Regions from separate parts of the Homo sapiens genome. Here region 2 is linked to region 1. Evidence: promoter capture Hi-C in 16 types of primary human blood cells and fetal thymus (Javierre and others, 2016). All regions are on one chromosome and are shown on one strand. The core of a region is centred on a gene start or on the middle of the fragment in contact, and the rest is flanking DNA. Distances in the headings are between cores, read along the strand shown.

Region 1 (3,607 bases), core at 1,038-3,537:
TAATTATTTTGTAATCTTAATCACAAGTCACAAATTTGCAGGTACCTCAGGTTACCTCAGCTTCTACTTTGAAAACTTTGTAATCATTCCTTTCTCACCCTGTTTTAAAAAAAGGATGGCAAGAGTTCCATGCCTTTAAGAAACAGAAAACAAAGGTAACATCTTTCCCTTGTTTTGCACACTGAGGAAATGGTAACTAAAGGAAATGGTAGGATGTAAAGGACAGAGTGGAAGAAGGAAGTTGTGGAGATAGCGTTCATGGAAAGAGAGAAAGCTAAATTTGTATTGCCATTGCCTCCTCTGAGATTCCTAATAACTTCTCCTTTTCCCTCTTCCCCCTCATTCTTCCAGCTTAAGAAATTTTATCTTAAGATATCTAATTTTATCTAAGATAACATTTACAAATTTTATCTTAACTTCATCTGCCTTATTGGAGAACTACAGAACAAAAACCATTCCCAAGAGATCATGTGTTAGAAACTTTCAACCATAAAATACTTTAAAAACCTTAATGAAATCATCTAGATTCGCTTCGTTAGCCTAATCTGCTATTTCCTATCTTGAATGACTCACTACAGTCTAAACTACGTGCAGTTCTAGAAAAGGTCCATGTTCTCTCTGACTTGTGGGCCTTTGCACATGCGATTCCTTCTTTAACTGGCTAACTTCTAATTTTTCAGCTCTTGCCTTAGATATCAGTTACTTAAGGCAATCTTCACTACCTTACAATTAGACTTAATACCCCTCACATATACTGTCCCATACCTTGTACCTTTCCCATTATTACACAGCTCCACTATATTTTAATTGCCGATTAATTTACATATTTCCCACTAGATTTTAAGCTCTTTAAAGACAGGACTTATATTTTGTTTGCTCCTGTAGAGGTGTTCAATAATTACTGAATGAATTATAAATGTCATTCCATCAGCCTTCCACATGCTTAGTGTCATTCCCTATTCTCCCTGTTCAGAACATTCTCCCCAGTTCTATCACCAGCATGAAATACTCTTTATAACCTGGTCCTTAATTATCACTATTTCCTCTGGATGCCTATAGCCTTTATTGTACATACTATTCATTTGCTAATTAACCCACCACTGTGTTTTTCAGTTATTTTTGTAATGCATAGATCCAATCTCCTTAACTAAACTGTACAATCCTTGAAGGCATAACTGTATGTCTCTCTTAGTACCCTATCATCTAGCACAGGGCTATGTACAAGGTAGACGTTAAATATTTGTAGATGAAGAATCAAAATTTAAGAGGTTGTTTCTCATACAAAACTGACAATATTTTAAAGTGATAGTGATAAATACGTGGTGGCAATTAAACCTCTTGTCAATACACAGAAAATAAAAAGATATACTTTAGTACAGTTAAGTACAAATAATTTTTTAAAAAACCGTTCCTGAGTGAGAGGTAATAATGGACTCAAATTTTAGGAGGCACTACAACCATAGCTACATTCATAAGTTAAGGATAAGTAGCCTATGGCTTCCAAAATGACCTGTGCACAGAGAACATCACTGTATTTTTCAGATCTAGGACAGTCATATTTATACAAGAATTTAGGGCGGTCTATGTTTTGGAAAGATAGTTACGGTTTTGGCCTATCAAGAAGCACGCCTGTCAGCAAGGGAGTTAACTGGCGCCACCTGTTTATAGATAGCTTGCTGTCATTACAGTGCTCTCCGAATTGCTAATTCCAACTGAGTAAAATCTGAACCACAGATAAACTGTCCCAAATTCCATTACTAATTGGGGAAAATAATCCAGTCTTCCTCGTCTTTAGAAAGGCAAGCAGGCTGGGAATGGTGTCTACCCCAACTCTTAATATGAGAGAAAAACTATGACTCCGAGAGCCTCCAGCGCTCCAGGTGTCCTCTGCCCAGAACCTCCTGCCCCGTTTCCCTTTGCTGAACTCAAAGGTTTTCTTCTTCGCCCTTTCCTCAAATTACTGACGTTAATTTCCTTCACTTACTGCTGCTCCCAGTTAGCCATGACTTTCTTCTTGGTGCTCTCTCTGCCCCGAGGTCAGGAGGGCAACCTTTTCCCTACAGGTCCCCTTGCCCTTCACCCTATTCTTCCATGTCAGTGGCATCTCACCTGGTAGGCTCGAGCGGTTCCCAAGGCGCCGAGTTGATGTGGCCTCCACTGCGGACCTGAGCCGCTAACAGAGACTAAAGGCCGGATCAGAATCGCGGAGTGCCGGCGCTTTTCGAAAGCAGCCGCCGCGGCCGCCCAGCGCCAAGAATGCATCGCGAGCAGCGCCATCTTGAGCGAGGAAAGAGGAACCGAGAGAAGAGGATTATGGGACACTGGCGGACTGAATTCGGCTACCTTAATTGTCTCTCCTCTTCTTGTTTTCCCAGGGCCCCAGACCGGAAATGGATTCTGTTTGAAGATTCGGATGCATTCGCACAGCCTCTTTTATTTGTTTTTCCTTAGGGCCGAGCTTTGATTGTTTTCCTTACACAACCGGGAATATTGGAGTAACACTGTATTTTTCTCTTTTCCTGGAGTTGCCAGATGAAATACAGGATGCCTACCTAGTTAAGTTTCAATTTTACATAAACAACGAATCATCTCTTCGTGCGTGTGTCCCAAATATTGTATCTGCTAAATCTGTCAACCCCATCTTGTCTCTCATAATACTCTCTTACCTCCTCCAACTCAATGTCACGCTCCCCTCTCTCCATTTTCCCTATGCATATTCTTATCTTCACTCCCTTCTGAATTAAGGAAAGATTAAACTACAGACGTTAATTTCCCCTGGGAGGAGGCTTCAGCTGTAAGATTTACTGCTTTTCTGTCCTGTAAGGACTTTAACTTTGCTGATTGTTCTCTGTTGCGCAAACCTTGGGGCAGTTTTCCTTTGGTCTGTTGCTCGTGGGACAGTCTCACACACACACACACACACACACACACAGAGAGACTACAGACATCTTTACTAATTTTGTCACTCTTTCTAGCTCTTCGCTTTGGTTTTTGCAGCGTCCCTAATTCTTGAAAAATCGCTTAGGTTGGCTGAAGGGTGGTAAAGTGAAATGTATGGAGAGAAGACCATGTTTAAAGACAGGCTTATATTCTTTTGTCACCACTATTATCAAACAAAATGTCAAAATATGTTTACAGTTATCTAGGAAACTGCATTTCCAGTTGTAAATGTTACCTGAAACCCCGGAGACAATAATGCAGTTGCAATTTTATATTCACTGCTGCATTCTCCAACTTTTCACACAAAAGAGACAAATAATTATGGACTTCTTATGAAGAGGTACTTTGGACTAGTAAGTCTGATAAAGAAAAACAGAAATCTGTAGCCCATGCAGTTAGCTTTTTTGTTCTGGGATTCATTCAAGGGGATGCTTGAGCTAGTTATTTAAAGAAAAATAGAATTCAAGTTGAAGAGGTTGACTGGAATTACACGTAAAGAAGATGACATGTTAAAAGCAAGAAGGCATAAGAAAATATTTTCAGGTTCAGGAGTCTATGGAGTTTGGGAAAGTAGTAGGAGGTTAACCTGAGTGAACAGAGACCTGATGGTAAAGGGCCTTCTATTTCATTCTAAGAAGTTAATACTTTATCCTATAACCAGTGAAGA
Region 2 (3,832 bases), core at 801-3,300, 360 kb after region 1:
TTGAGATCAGCCTGGGCAACATAGTGAGGTCCCGTATCAAAAACAAAAACAAAAAAAAACAAAAAACAAACAAACAAACAAAAAACCAAAACCAACCAACCAACCAACCAAACAAAAAAATCCCACAGGGGTAAATCTTTATGCTCTTGCATTTGGTAATGGATTCTTAAATATGACACCAAAAGCATAGGCAACAAAAGAAAAAATAGATAAATTGAATTTTATTAAAATTAAAAATCTTTGTGTATAAAATGATACTATCAAGTATGGGGGAAAATGTTTGCAAATAACGTATCTGATAAAGATCAAGTATTCAGAACATGCAAAAAATATTAAAATTCAACAACAAAAAGACAACCCAATTTAAAAATCCCATTTAAAAAATGGACAATGGCTTGAATAGACATTTTCCCAAAGAAGATATATGGATGGCAAACAAGTACATAAAAAGATACTCAATATTTTTTTCATTATGGAAATACAAATCAAATCCATAATGAGATACCCCTTCACACCCAGTAAGATGGCTATAATAAAAATAAAACTGAAAATAACAAGTCTTGGTGAGAATGTGGACAAATTGGAACCCTTCTGTGCTGCTTGATGGGAATGTAAAATGGTGCAGTCACTGCGGAAGATAGTTTGGAGGTTCCTCAGAAAGTTAAACATAGAATTACCATACAGTCCAATTATCCCCATCCATCTCCCTGGTGTATATACTCAAAATAATTGAAGACAGATATTCAAACAAATACATGAATGTTTGTAACAGCACTATTCAGAAGAGACAAAAGGTAGAAATAGCCCAAATGGCCATTAATGGATGAATGGATAACAAACTGGTATATATATATATATATATATATATATATATATATATACACACACACACACACACACACACACACACACACACACACAATAGACTATTATTCAGCCATTAAAAGGGATAAATTACTGTTACATAATATAATGTGGACCAATTTCAAAAACATTTTGTTAATTGGAAGAAGTCAGACACAAAAGAACACATATTTTATGATTCTATTTATATGGAACATCCATAATAGGTAAATCCATAGAGACAGAATGCAGATTAATAATTGGCTAGGACTTGGGGGAAGAGGGAACAGGGAGTGACTGCTTAATGCTTATGAGGTTTCTTTATGGGATAACAAAAACATTTTGGAACTACATAGAGGTGATGGCTGCACAACATTGTGAGTGCTAAATGGCACTGAGGCGAACACTTAAAAATGGTTAATTTTATGTTATATAAATTTCACCCCAATAAAATGGATACTGTTACTTTCCCTCCTCTCTAAAAAGCTAAGCTTCTTATTTTCCTGGGTCAGGAAGAATCCTTTATTTCTTTACTAATCACAAGTTACTATCTAATGAGCTCTTATAATGTGTTGTGAACTGTGATGCATGCTTTTCAGGCATCATGTTATTTGAGCCTCACAGCAGTAATACCTGGCATATACTGAGTGCTAAGCAACCATTTGTCATATGGATGAACAACTGTAGAAGCAAGGTACATGTGAGACAACTGAGGTTGAGAGAGTGAAGTTACTTGCCCCAGGTCTCCAGGCTAGTAAATGGCAGAATTCAAACTCTAAGAATTAAAGGACAAAAACATCTCTTTTGGTTTCAGCTCTAATGTAACGTTAGGGAGAAAGACATCAGGTTTTATCCCTGGAAAGAAGTTAGGTCCTTAATGTTACTTTTTGAGACATATTGAAATGCAAATTTGTTAATTTATTTGTGTTGGAAAAGGTATGGCCTTGGTATCAGGCAGCCTGGATTTCCAACTCTTCACTATTACTAAATGTGTGGCCTTAGGAAAATTTGATTTAACCTTTCCAAAACCCAGGTTGCTAATTTGTTACAAGATTGTTAAACTGATGATGGCAGGAGGGACTGGTTCAGCCAGAGTTGAAAGTCAAAGCTGCCTTATTCTCCTGACTTTTAAATAATGGGAACTGATGCAAAATGTTAAGAAAACACTGTGCAGGCCAGGCAAAATATATCTGAAGGCTACATCTGGCTTGTATGTCACAAAGTTTTTACCTCTGCATTAGTTTAGAGGAGACTGTGGCAACATACTGCCTGGGTTTTAAGTTTGGCCATTTACTAGCTCTGTGACCTTAGGTAAGCTACTTATTCTGTCTGTTCCTCAGTTTACAAACAAGTAATGATAGTATATACATTGGAAAGTTGTTATAAAGATTAAGTGTCTGTGTGTGTAGTCACCTAGAAATAGTACTTGGCATGTAGCAGTGTGGTGCAAGTATGTTAACTAAAACAAACAAATAAGTCCTACGCTTCCTTTCATCTGTTAATATTACATGACTAAAGAAGAACTTATAGAAGGCCAATTATTTGCAGTAACTTGGTCTTTACCTTGGTTTGCTCATCTGTGCCTCAGTTTACACATTTGTACAATGGAAACAGTAATGGTACCTGCCTCATATAGTTATTGTGATGATTAAATGAATTAATATATAGTTAATCTATCTACAGAACTTAGAACATTTTCTGGCACAGAGTAAGCAATACATAAGTGTTAGTCATTATCATCATTAATTTTTAAAATATATCTTGGTGAAGCTCATATGAGTCAATACTGAAAAACTCCAAAATAAGTTGTTTACAATATGGCATTGATCCTAGGAGCAATGTCCATACCATAATAATGGTGCTGAACTTTTGACCCTTCAATCAATCATTCAAAAAGCCAAAGTAGTAAGGTCTGAGAATAGAAAAGCTTCCCAGTCATTGCATAGTCTACTTAATGCATCCCAATACTGGATTGAGATACAAAAGAAAACTAGGCTAACTTGTATCTATGAAGGCAACTAATGACATTTATTTTAAGAGCTCTTTCTGCATTTTCCATAATATCTCTAAGGAAGAGGTAAAAAAAATTCCAATTGTGATTCAGAGAGGTAATTAGAATTAGAATATAGGAAATTATAGAATTAGAATATAGAAAGTTCTATATTGGAAAAGAGGATCATCTCCTGCCTCCCTAGTTTATCCCAGTCTACCTGGGGTAGACTATTGCTTTGCAAATATGTAACAGAAGAAAATTACAAATGGAGTCAGGTCCCGGAGTTCAAAAAAGCAGCATCCTTACCATCATTTTTAAGGTGAGAAGAGTTTGGTATGAAAAAATAAAGAAGTCTCAGAAGGACTTGGGAGTGAGGGGATGTCCAATGGGTCAGGAGTCCTACTGTGAGAGGAGTATAAACATATTGGAGCCCCAAACTAGATGAATAGGGAACATTGTAGGCCACAAGTTTAAGGGTGCTGGCGATGGAATTACAGTGTCGAAGTGACAAGACTGACAAGTATTAGTGGAATCTCTTTTGAGAGGAGACAGGGATTCTTCAATGTGAGAAGACAGGGACAAGGGGAGATTTTACTGTGAGAAAAGCAGGGACCCTATTGTAACAAGACAGGATATAATATGAAAACGCCATTGTGAGTTGATGAGAGCATTGCAAGGCCAATAATAATAAGAATGGGGAACGGGGGGAATTAAAGTGGAAAGTGGGAATAATATAAGGGAGAGACTTGGGGTTTGTGTCGGGAAATATTGTAGAATTCTGAGTTTGAATGCACAAGCTATACTGTGAGAACCATTTTGCAAATAAGGAGGATATAGAGTGCTCCTTAGTGTGACAGGACAGGGTAAAAAAAGATCATAGAATTATAAAAGGGGTAGTCTAATGAGAGGGAATGAGAAATGATATGCCCATTGGGAGGAGTAGAAAATATTAGAAACCCCAGTAAGAAAGAATGGGGTTTCCCCAGTTTGAGAAGA

Evidence for each region. The method cuts DNA at HindIII sites, captures the fragments that hold promoters and counts their contacts. A CHiCAGO score of 5 or more calls a contact.
Region 2: a contact is called between a fragment that was not itself captured here and the fragment with the promoter of ABCB7 in region 1, in 6 of 17 cell types (naive CD4 T cells, non-activated CD4 T cells, activated CD4 T cells and 3 more). The highest score is 8.1, in naive CD4 T cells.

Annotation. Positions count from the first base shown.
Region 1 is chrX:75,153,996-75,157,602 of GRCh38, forward strand. It overlaps ABCB7 (ATP binding cassette subfamily B member 7), which reads right to left and starts at 2,288. Exons shown (of 16, transcript NM_001271696.3): 1 at 2,110-2,288. The coding sequence starts at 2,277. It also overlaps a transcript of UPRT not described here. RefSeq lists an enhancer at 1,969-2,398. The HindIII fragment of the contact is 6,846 bases long and covers 1-3,607 here.
Region 2 is chrX:75,517,927-75,521,758 of GRCh38, forward strand. The region is part of intron 1 of ZDHHC15 (zDHHC palmitoyltransferase 15); the gene reads right to left. Among named protein-coding and RNA genes, the nearest start is that of ZDHHC15, 3.2 kb to the right of the region's middle. The HindIII fragment of the contact is 1,436 bases long and covers 1,333-2,768 here.